3 separate regions of the Homo sapiens genome follow, and all the other regions are linked to region 3. Evidence: promoter capture Hi-C in human tissues and cell types (Jung and others, 2019). All regions are on one chromosome and are shown on one strand. The core of a region is centred on a gene start or on the middle of the fragment in contact, and the rest is flanking DNA. Distances in the headings are between cores, read along the strand shown.

What was found. Contacts are between HindIII fragments. The study calls those that stand out against the background at their distance.
Region 1: a fragment that was not itself captured here is called in contact with the fragment with the promoter of ZNF738 in region 3 in 1 of the 25 tissues and cell types used here (lymphoblastoid cells).
Region 2: a fragment that was not itself captured here is called in contact with the fragment with the promoter of ZNF738 in region 3 in 1 of the 25 tissues and cell types used here (lymphoblastoid cells).

The regions. Positions count from the first base shown.
Region 1 is chr19:20,416,356-20,420,089 of GRCh38, reverse strand. All of the region lies in intron 1 of LOC124904663 (a long non-coding RNA gene), which reads left to right. It also overlaps the pseudogene ZNF826P and the pseudogene BNIP3P22. Among named protein-coding and RNA genes, the nearest start is that of MIR1270, 19 kb to the right of the region's middle. The HindIII fragment of the contact is 4,759 bases long and covers 1-3,734 here.
Region 2 is chr19:20,760,924-20,764,950 of GRCh38, reverse strand. No RefSeq gene overlaps it. Among named protein-coding and RNA genes, the nearest start is that of ZNF66, 13 kb to the left of the region's middle. The HindIII fragment of the contact is 4,086 bases long and covers 1-3,463 here.
Region 3 is chr19:21,357,222-21,361,307 of GRCh38, reverse strand. ZNF738 (zinc finger protein 738) reads right to left here and starts at 2,308. Exons shown (of 5, transcript NM_001355237.2): 1 at 2,165-2,308. The coding sequence starts at 2,167. RefSeq lists enhancers at 1,947-2,246, 3,038-3,595. The HindIII fragment of the contact is 7,981 bases long and covers 1-4,086 here.

The DNA of each region.
Region 1 (3,734 bases), core at 558-3,057, 940 kb after region 3:
GTAGAGACGGGATTTATCCATGTTTATCAGGCTGATCTTAAACTCCTGACCTCAGGTGATTAGCACACCTCAGCCTTTAAAAGTGCTGGGATTACAGGTGTGAGCCTCCGCACCCAGCCTTTGCCTACTTTTTTTTTTTTTTTTTTTTTTTTTGCAACAGTTTTGCTCTTGTCACCCAGGCTGGATTGCAATGACGTGATCTCAGCTGGCTGCAACCTCTGCCTCCACCTCCTGGGTTTGAGCCATTCTCCTGCCTCAGCCTCCTGAGTAGTTGGGAGTACAGGCACCTGCCGCCACGCCCAGCTAATTTTTGATATTTTTAGTAGAGACGGGGTTTCACCATGTTGGCCAGGTTGGTCTTGAACTCCTCTCAAGTGATCCACCCTCCTTGTCCCCTCAAAGTGCTGGGATTACAAGCGTGAGCCACTGTGCCCGTCCTGTCTACTTTTTAATGAGGTTGCTTGTTTTTTTCTTGTAAACTTGTTTAAGCTCTTAATAAATTCTGGAAAGTCGACCTTTGTCAGAGGCAAATATTTTCCTTTATTCTGTAGGTTGTCTACTCTGTTGATAATCTCTTCTGCTGTGAAGAAGCTCTTAAGATCTTCACAATTGAAAAATAGGTCCCATTTTTCAATTTTTGCCTCTGTTGCAGTTGCTTTTGGTAGCTTCCTCATGAAGTCTTTGCCAGTTTCTATGTCTAGAATGGTATTTCCTAGGTTATCTTGGAGGGTTTCTCATAATTTTAAGGGTTTTTTTGTTTGGTTGGTTTCTGTTTTTTTTTTTTTTTTCAGACGGAGTCTCGCTCTGTCGCCCAGGCTGGAGTGCGGTGGTGTAATCTCGGCTCACTGCAAGCTCCGCCTCCCGGGTTCACACCATTCTGCCTCAGCCTCCCGAGTAGCTGGGACTACAGGCGCCCGCCACCATGCCTGGCTAATTTTTTGTATTTTTAGTACAGACGGGGTTTCACCATTTTAGCCAGGATGGTCTCGATCTCCTGACCTCGTGATCCACCCGCCTCGGCCTCCCAAAGTGCTGGGATTACAGGCATGAGCCACCGCGCCCCGCCATAATTTTAAGTTTTACACTTAAGTCTTTAATTTATCTTGAGTTGATTTTTGTATACGGTATAATGAAGAGGTCTAGCTTCAGTCGTCTACATAATGTTAGGTAGTTATTCCAGCACTGTTTATTAAATAGAGAATCCTTCCCACATTTCTCTTGTCAGCTTCATCAAAAATCTGATGGTTGTAGGAGGGTGGCATTATTTCTGGGCTCTCTATTCTGTTGCATTGGTCTTGTGCACTCATGGATTTTTTTATAACATCTTTCTCTTTTCTGGTTTTTCCTTCATAAACATTCTGTCAAGTGCATAGAGTGTGCAAATTTCAGATGTCCAAGAGTTCAAAACTCTTCAATAAGTTCCAAAAAAATATTTTGCTATTCCCTCTTTGCTTAAGGGATTTAGATTATATATAGACAATTTTCTCTGCTTTTTTGAAATGTATGTAAATCATATTAACAGCTAAATAATGTCTTTTGTCATTTTTTCTTTTTCATTTTCTTTTTTTTTTTTAAGACAGAGTCTCGCTCTGTCACCCAGGCTGGAATGCAGTGGGGCAATCTCGGCTCACTGCAACATCTGCCTCCCAGGTTCATGCCCTTCTCTTGCCTCAGCGTCCCAAGTAGCTGGGACTACAGGCGCATGCTGCCACACCTGGCTAATTTGTATTTTTAGTAAAGACGGGGTTTCACCATGTTAGCCAGGATGGTCTTGACCTCCTGACCTTGTGATCCGCCCACCTCTGCCTCCCAAAGTGCTGGGATTACAGGCGTGAGCCACCATGCCCATCCCCTTTTGTCATTTTTCTGACTCCAGATTATCGTTATCTGGTACTTCAGATTTATTGGTTTGTTTTTGGTTCTGAAAACTTTATTTTTTTCATTTTTAGTCCTTTAAAATAGACACAGATTTGTTTAGGTAAAAGCTAATTTTAGAGCACAAAAAAGCTTAGCACAAAGATAGGATTAAATTTAGTAACACAGAATGGTAAACAATAAAAGATACTACGTTTCTTTGACAGAAACCTGATGATCTAAGGAAATTATCCAATATTTGCAGGCTGAAGTACTTGCACTGCAAAAACAAGAACAGTCTAGTGTATAAACTTAACAGTGGAGTCAGTAGTTGTACCTTGCTTTCTATTTATTACTTCAGAATAATTAGCATAGTTATACGTAATGTTTGTAGACAACCTGCATTTATATACATTTAACAGTATTCTCTTTTTTTTTTTCTTTTGAGACAGAGTCTCACTCTGTTGCTGAGGCTGGGGTGCAATGGCATGATCTCGGCTCACTGCAACCGCTGCCTCCCGGGTTCAAGCGATTCTTCTGCCTCAGCCTCTTGAGTAGCTGGGATTACAGGTGTGCATCACCATTCCTGACTAAGTTTTTGTATTTATAGTAGAGATGGGTGTCACCATGTTCTCCAGTTTGATCTTGAACTTTTGACCCAGGTGACCCACCCATTTCAGCCTCCCGAAGTGTGGACAAGGCATGAGCCATAAACAGTATTTTCTACAGTAACATGAATATAAAGCCGCAATACTTACTTTGAATGAATCACTTACATGGTTATTTTAATATTGTAATTTATACTTTTGAAATATAAAGTGTTTTAACTGAAGTATAGTTGCAATTTTTAAAACTACATATATTATTACTAGTTTATTAAAATTATTCATACTGATATTTATATCTAATATCTAAAGAAAATTTATTACCAAATTGTCACAGTAAGTAGATATTAGTGTGACATGTTTATTACTTTATTCAATAGGGATAATTATGAGTAAACAAAATTTTAATATCTTTTATTTCACTAAATTGGTATGCTGCTATTACATGACAAATAAAGACAGGTGATGTGGCCACCAAAAACCATAGTAGCTCTTCAGTTAGCTATGTTGCAAGTTCTAATATATTCCAATAAATGAACACAGTCAGATTCTATTTCTTCATCAGAAGGTGTTGTGGGAAGTTGTCAGATGTATTTCAATACAGAACCCCTATTCAATGACTAGGAGATGATGGATCAGCAGAGATAGAAAAGAAACTATAAAATTCTTCTGAGACTTTGCCCCTTTCTTCATAATGCTAATGTTTCTCATGCAGAGAGTAGCTGTGCACTTTGGGTGTTTAGAGAGAAATTGCTTTCAGGGGAATATTTTCTGGCTGACATCATCAATCTTACATCTAATCTGAGCTTTTTCTTAAGATAGTTTTAGCTTTTTTCTCTCAATCTTGCTCAGACGGAGATCTGTTTGTCTCTCCAAAGCTTTAGGTGTCTGTTTCAGAAACCCTATTAATATCCCATTTTTTTCTGAATGAGGTGGGCTGTCATAGTGAGAACTTTTGGAGCTATCTCTATCTTGAGTCATGCTGAAAATTCAGCAGTATTTTTTCCTTGTCACCATTATAAGTAGAAACTGAGGTTGAAACACTGCTCTCATTTCCATTATTGTGAATGTGTAATTCTACCCAGGAGGCCTGCAGGCTCTCCTCCTGCAGCTCAGGCTTCACTATCTGATGTGACACTAAAGTGCTGCTGTGGCAAATGGGATTCACATAAAATGTGAGCTGTGCTCTGGGCTGTGCCTCAGTGGCACATGGTAGAGGTCAAGAGAGCATACTAGCAACCAGGAGAAAGCAAGCAGGAGTGCTGTAGCCCAGTG
Region 2 (4,027 bases), core at 171-2,670, 600 kb after region 3:
GGATTTTCAATACGGCATCAGTTGTGGTAGTATAGGGTGTAGGCAAGCTTGCCATTGGGTCACCTGGATAAGTATTCAGGTTTCTCAGGCAATGGGTGGGAACATAGAGCTCCCAAGAGAGTATGTTTTTTGTCTTCAGCTACCAGCATGGGTAGAGTAAGGGCATCAGGCGAGGACAAGGTTAGACCTGTCTGAGCTCAGACCCTCCTTGGGTGGGGCTTGCTGCAGCTGCTGTGGGGTTGGGAGTATGGATCTCAGGCCAATGGAGTTATGTTCCCAGGGGGATTATGGCTGCCTCTGCTGTATCATACAGGTCAGGATGGAAGTGAAGGAAAGCCAGCAGTGACAGGCCTCACTCAGCTCCCATGAAGCCAGCAAGGCCAGTTTCATTCACACCCTACCCCACAAACAGCACCAAGTTTATATCCAGTCCGTGAGCAGTACTGAGATCTTGCCCCAGGCTATAAGCCTCCCCATTGAGAAAGCAACCTGGGCTTTCAGGCGCCACCCCTCACCACCTGCCATGGCTTTTGTGCCCGTATCTGTGCTTCTCATTCACTGTCCCCTCATCGATTCTGCCAAGGAACATTGACACTAGGTCAAAATTCTTACAGGGTTTAGCTGGAAGTTTTCTTCTCCCTGTAGCCCTTCCCCAATTCCACTGGCAGCCCTTCCCAAGGACCCCTGTGAGATAAAGTCAGAAATGGCTTCCCTGAGGATCAAGAGTGCCTATGGGGCTCTTCCCACTGCTTCTGCTTTTATATTTTGCTTGGCTCTCTAAATTCATTTCGGCCCTAGGTAAGGCTAAATCCTTCTCTGGTAATCTGGATTTTCAGGTTTTGAGTATGTGTGTTTAGAGGTGAATGTTCCTTCTCTTACACTTTTGGCACTTGCTGTTTTTCAGTTGTCTCGCAGAGGTTGCAGTGGCAAGCCACTTCTTTCAAAGAGTCTGTGCATTCTTTTGGTTTTCCTGGTATGTTCCTATGGTAGTTCTTGGAGTAAAAGTTCATGATGAGAGTCTCCACATGCTGTTCTGTCCATCCAAGCAGGAGATACAAATTAATCCTGTCTCCTGGCTACCTTTTTTTTTTTTTTTTGCCTTCTGAGAGAGAAATATTGATTGACCATCACAGATTTTAAAAAAAAGATCAGTAAGCATTCTCTCTCTTTCTTTATTGTTTCAAATAGAACTCTACTTTTTCTTCAGGCTACTGATTTAGTTTCTTATTATACATTTATTTATTTATTTATCTGTTTCTTATTGACTGTGCTCACCACTAGACCAACTGCAAATAATTCAACTGCAGAAATATAGGGTAAGTCTTTCATAAATGATTACTCATTAACTATAAATCCACAAAATTTTCATGTTAACATTCATCTGATCTGCCCTCATCTGGCCTGCTACAGAATGCTTGAAGTTAGATTAAAAATAATCTACCGATAAATATTCATTGATAGAACACTGAAAGGTGAAGCCTGCTGGTGAAAACATTGTTCCTTCATTACCAGAAATGAAGTAGATACATTTATTTCTTGACTTGGTATTATGCTTCATTTGTGTGTGTTTATTTTTATCCAGTACCATGCTATTTGCTTACTGTAGCTTTTTTTTGAGACAGGTTTCAGTCTGTTGCCCAGGGTGGAGTGCAGTTGCTTCATCGTGGCTCACTGCAGCCTCAACTTCACAGGATCTAGGAATCCTCTCACCTCCGCATCTCAAGTAGCTGAGACTATGGGTTTGTGCCATTAAACTCTGCTAATTTTTCTATTTTTTGTAGAGATGGTGTTTTGCTATGGTGCCAAGGCTGGTCTAGAACTCCTGGACTCAAGCAACCCACCTTGGCCTCCCAAAGTGCTGGGATCACAGGTGTGAGCCACTGCACCTGGCCTTACTGTAGCTTTGTAATATATTCAGAAACCAGGTAGTATGATGCCTCCAGCTTTGTTGTTTTTCCTCAATATTGCTTAGGCTATTCTGGGTCTTTCATGAATTGATAGAGATTTGATAATTACTTTTTAAATTCTGAGAAAAATATAATTGGAATTTTTATAAGGATTGCATTTAATCTGTAGATCACTTTGGGTAGTATGGACATTTTTACAATATTAATTCTTTCAATTCATAAGCATGGTGTATCTTTCAATTTTTTAGTTCCTTCAATTTATTTAATGTTTTAGAGTTTTTAGTGTATAGATCTTTTACCTCTTTCAATAAATTTATTTCTACGTATTTCATTCTTTTTTATGTTTTTGTAAATGAGATTATTAATCTCAATCCCTGTCTACACATCTATTCAACTTCAACAGATTTAGAGATTAAACCAAATACATGTGAAAATGCAGGAGAGGGAAGAAACTCAAAGTTTTCTAGTTTTGTAAAATACAGGTGCCCAGTTTAGCATCCTGTGTCATGCCTTGTGGTGCCAAGCATTGCATTAAGCTTAAACTTAAGCTCAAATTGACTTCTTATTTGGGATAACCCAAAGATAGAGAAATTCATCATCCTGATTTTACACAGATGGAGACGGCTGCTTAGAGAGAATAAATGAATATACAGAATCACATGGCTGGTACACAGTAAACTGGAACTTCTAGAAGAAACCATCTGACCTTGAACTTGAAATGAGCTGGGCAGCTTCTTACCATCTGTCTATGAAAAGGCCAGAGATACCAGAGGGTGGCCTTTGAGTCTTTGGTGAATAGGTGAAAACTTCAAATGTTGATACTCAGGAGAAAGGAGTTAGATTGACCCAACACTTGATGGAACACTTATTTTTAACTTAATGCAGCCATAAAAGTGTTTATAACATTTGGGGCTTTGAGTTCTTCAATTAAGGCAGAATTTCTATAGAGTATACTTTTCCCTATAAAATGTATTTAGCCATTGATAACTCTATGTAGCTCTGTGAAATATGTGCTTATTAGACAGATCAGGTGTTTTGGCTAAGAATAAGATGAATAATTGTGTTTGTAATAAAATATATTTATAAATAATTTTGATTCTGAATATTTAAAAACTATTAACTATTGTTTGAATATGTCTTTGTCCAAAACATATATATACATTTTATATAATATATAGAATATATGTATATATATAATACACACATAGATAATCATATGTAATATAGATGATAATATAACTGTACCTTCTGTGGCTATTATGAGCTTCATTGGTCACCAGCTCCAGGATATGGGGCATCAGGTACTCAAGAGTGGCAGCAAGAAACATAAGCATGGAAGAGTCCAGGCACTGGGCACAGCAGATCTCCCACAAGAGGTGTCCAAACATATCATGGAGAACTGCAGCTCTGCTCTTGCTAAGAAGGTGAATCTGCATTTTTTTTCTTTTTTTTTTTTTTTGAGAAGAAGTCTCTCTCTGTCACCCAGGCTGGAGTGCAGTGGCGCTATCTTGGCTCACTGCACGCTCCACCTGCCAGGTTCTACCAATTCTCCCGCCTAAGCCTCTCGAGCAGCTGGGACTACAGGCGTGCGCAGCCACGCCCAGCTAATGTTTTTGTATTTTCAGTATAGATGGGGTTTCACCATGTTGGCCAGGCTGGTCTTGATATCCTGACCTGGTGATCTGCCCGCCTCAGCCTCCCAAGTGTTTGGATTAGAGGCATGAGCCACCGCTCCTGGCCTCTTTTTTTTTTTTTTTTTTTTTTTTGAGACCGAGTTTTGCTCTTGTTGCCCAGGCTGGAGTGCAATTGCACGATCTCGGCTCACCACAACATCCGCCTCCCAGGTCCAAATGATTCTCCTGCCTCAGCCGCCTAAGTAGCTGGGTAGGCTGGTCTTGAACTCTGAACCTCAGGTAATCCACCGGCCTCGGCCTCACAAAGTGCTGACATTACAGGCATGAGCCACCGTGCCTGGCTATTTTTTTGCTTTGTTTGTTTGTTTTGTTTTTAGACAGAGTGTCACTCTGTCGCCCAGGCTGGAGTGACGTGGCATGAGTTCAGCTCAGTCCAACCTCTGCATCCTGACTTCAAGAGATTCTCCTGGCTCAGTCTCCTGAGTA
Region 3 (4,086 bases), core at 1,059-3,558:
TTAGCCGGGCGTGGTGGCTGGCACATGCCTGTAATCCCAGCTACTCGGAGGCTGAGGCAGGAGAATCGCCTGAACCCGGGAGGCAGAAGTTGCGGTGAGCCGAGACCATGCCACTGTACTCCAGCCTGGGCAACAAGAGCAAAACTCCGTCTCAAAACAAAAAACAAACAAAAAAACCCCCAAAACACCATTTATGCAGGGCGCAGTGGCTCACGCCTGTAATCCCAGCACTTCGGGAGGCCAAGGCGGGCGGATCACCTGAGGTCGGGAGTTCATGACCAGCCTGACCAACATGGAGAAACCCTATCTCTTCTAAAAATACAAAATCAGCTGGGCGTGGTGGTGCATGCCTGTAAACCCAGCTACTTGGGAGGCTGAGGCATGAGAACCTCGTGAACCCGGAGGCGGAGGTTGTGGTGAGCCGAGAATGTGCCTTTGCAACAAGAGTGAAACTCCGTCTCAAAAAAAAAAGAAAAGAAAAAAGCACCATTTAATGCCTTGCCAAAAAATAATTAATTAAAATACGGTATAAAAAAGTACACTACAAAATAAGTGGCCAGGCCCGGTGGCTCACGCCTGTAATTCCAGCACTTTGGCAAGCTGATGCGGGCGGATCACCTGAGGTCAGGAGTTCGAGACCAGCCTGGCCAGCATGGTGAAACCCCCGTCTTTACAAAAACACAAAAATTAGCCAGGTATGATGGCGCGCACCTGTAATCCCAGCTACTAAGGAGGCTGAAGTGGGAGAATTGTTTAAAACCGGGAGGCGGAGGTTGAGGTGAGCCGAGATCGCGCCATTGCACTCCAGCCTGGGAGACAGAGCGAGACTCCATCTCAAAAACAAAACAAAACAAACAAAAAAACACAAATACGTGATAATGTGAATTAGGGAGGAAAAGCTGGCATTTGGGAACCCCAGAAGAAATTGGAAATTTAGTATCTTACTGCAAGCAAGAATGAGGTTGGAGTAATGAGGGATGGGGGTTAGACTTAAGACCCTGATTGGGACCCAGGTGAAAAATGCAGCAGAAAATCAGTTCCCTGTGGAGTGTGAAAATAATTAAGTGGCAGGCAATTAGACTGAGGTTTCTCTAGTCCCTGGGTTCCTACTTCAATTTAAAAAATCTAACTCAGGCGCATTATTTTTAATTACTAAATTCAGAGAAACAAAATTGAGGCTTCACCTACTATAAACTGCCAATTGAGCTCCGATTACATAACCAGGAAATTTTCACCTTTAATGTACAAATTAAAAAACCACGTAACTGTACCTAACCAATTACTAAATTTGGTTTTCTTCATCATGCATTTTACAAAAGACTTTCTTTCAAGCCTCTCCCATAGACCACAAACTAAAAACCACAGCTTGGTGCTCTACAATTCTAGAACCACTTTTTGATTAAATTATTTAATAAGTTAATTTTTTTTTTGAGACAAGAGTCTCGCTCTGTCGCCCAGGCTGGAGTGCAGTGGCACGATCTCGGCTCACTGCAAGCTCTGCCTCCTGGGTTCACGCCATTCTCCTGCCTCAGCCTCCTGAGTAGCTGGGACTACAGGCGCCCGCCACCACGCCCGGCTCATTTTTTGTATTTTTAGTAGAGACGGGGTTTCACCGTGTTAGCCAGGATGGTCTTGATCTCCTGACCTCTGATCCGCCCACCTCGGCCTTCCAAAGTGCTGGGATTACAGGCGTGAGCCACCGCGCCCAGCCTAGAACCACTCTTTGATTAAATTCTTTTAATATTTTTGCAGTGACTCCCATTAACTTTTAATAGGAGATAATAGGAACTGGGAACCCCACGGAACAAACCTCTTCCCATTCATGAACCCGCACCCCAAGTCAGGATTCTCCCCTGACGACCCTCCCACGGTCCCTGCACAATCCGGTAGAGAAGCGGCGCTGCGGGTGCAGAGATTCCCCAGAGAGGGCTCCAGGCAAGGGCACAGTCACTATGCAGGGAAGAGACAGGACGCCCGGGGGCCGGGCTGTCGGCGCAACCGCCATCTTATGGCTGAAGGCGACTGAGGCCGAGCTGGGCAAGGAGAACTCGGGGCGCAGATTGTAGAGCTGACTGCGGGGAGGCCTGAGTCTCGCCACAGCCACTTCCCACCGGTTCCAACCAGCCCTTCCCCTCTCTCGGGATGTTGGACCCCGCACTCTCACCATTTCTAGGCTTCCAGGGTGTCCCGGCGTCTTAGCTGTGGATTCCCAATACCTGCAGGTCACAGGACCAGAGGCTGGGCCTCTAGGAGCAGAGGACACAGAGCAGTGAAGACGAGACCCGGAGTTCCAGCGGCAGCCAAAGACAAAGAAGCGGACAAATCCCGCCACATCCCGGAAGCCGTCCTCTCCGCTCAAGCTGCGTGCCTGATTGGACAGTTCCCAGCCCAGCGTCGCTGATTGGATAACGTTTAAAACCCCACCCTCTCAGGCCCTGACTGACAGAAGATGTAATTAGATGCTGGGCTGAATGAAGAAAGAGTGACCGCCTAGGCTGCAGCCTTTTCAGGCAGGGCTTCCTCCTTGAGCTGAGATAGGCCCACCCCAAAGGGTATTTGCATTCAACCTTGCGTATAAGGTCATATGCATTTGTAAATACTATATCATATGGCTATACATAAATGAAAAGGATATAATAACAAATGTTTTAAAATTTCAGGGTTTTTTTACTTTCCTGGCTTACGGTCCTTTGAGCAGGCAGCCTGAGATTTTAAAAAGGAGGTAATCCTCTGAAATAAAATGTGAGCCACGTGAATTTTGAATTTTCTGGTAGCCAAACTAGAAAATTAAAAAGAAACAAGGGGCCAGGCATGGTGGCTCACGCCTGTAATCCTAGGACTTTAGGAGTACAAGGCGGGCAGATCAAGAGGTCAGGAGTTTGAGACCAGCCTGGCTAACATGGTGAAACCACGTCTCTACTAAAAATACAAAAATTAGCCGGGCGTGGTGGTGGACATCTGTAATCCCAGCTACGCAGGAGGCTGAGGCAGGAGAATTGCTTGAACCCGGGAGGCGGAGGAGGTTGCAGTGAGCAGAGATCGCGCCACTGCACTCCAGCCTGGGCGGACAGAGCGAGACTCCGTTTTGGGGGGTGAAAAATATAAAGAAACAAGAGGCCACGCGCAGTGGCTCACGCCTGTAATCCCAGCACTTTGGGAGGCCGAGGCTGGTGGATCACGAGATCAAGTGATTGAGACCCTCCTGGCAATATGGCTAAACCCTGTCTCTACTGAAAAAAATATAAAAATTAGCCAGGCGTGGTGGCGCATGCCTGTAATCCCAGCTACTGGGGAGGCTGAGGCAGGAGAATCGCTTGAACCCGGGAGGCAGAGGTTGCAGTGAGCCGAGATTGCGCCACTGCACTCCAGCCTAGTGACAGACTGCAACAACAGCAACAACAACAACAACAATAACAAGGAACAGGTTGAATTGATTGTAACAATGTAATTAACCTAATATATACAAAATATCATTTTAATGTGTGAGGAATATGTAATTATTAATGAAGTATATAAATATTTGCAACTAAATTTTTGAAAATAACTCTGTGTTTTACCTTTCTAGCATATCGCGGTTCAGACCAAGCACATTCCAGGCACCCAGGAGCCACACATGGCAGCTCTGATGTCAATGGTGTGAAGGGCCAGAGGGGAAGGAAGGGCCTCTCCCTACTAACATCTATCTTCAGTTCTGAGGTTGGAACAGATAGTGGCCATAGAAAGAGCTGAGGGCAGCAGAAATAAAATAACCACAGGTAAACCACTGCTTACCACCTGTTGCCCACCTTTCTTTTAGAGATTAGGCTGTGAACATAGGATGATGGAGCTTAGGAGAAAAAAACTCTGTGTCTTCAGTTCTGCCCACATTCTTGGACTCCAGTGTTTAGATACAGAGAAAATAGATTAAAGGCAAACTTATTTTGCTATTTGGCCTTGACCCTAATTGCGAGGCTGTGGTTATCTGTTTTCTCCTGTGGTGTGGGGACTGTGCGAATATAAACACCAATCACATGCATACATGTCTCCCAGTATTTCTGCATTACCCAACATTCTCTTTCAAGACATCCAACTTTAAATTAGGGGAAG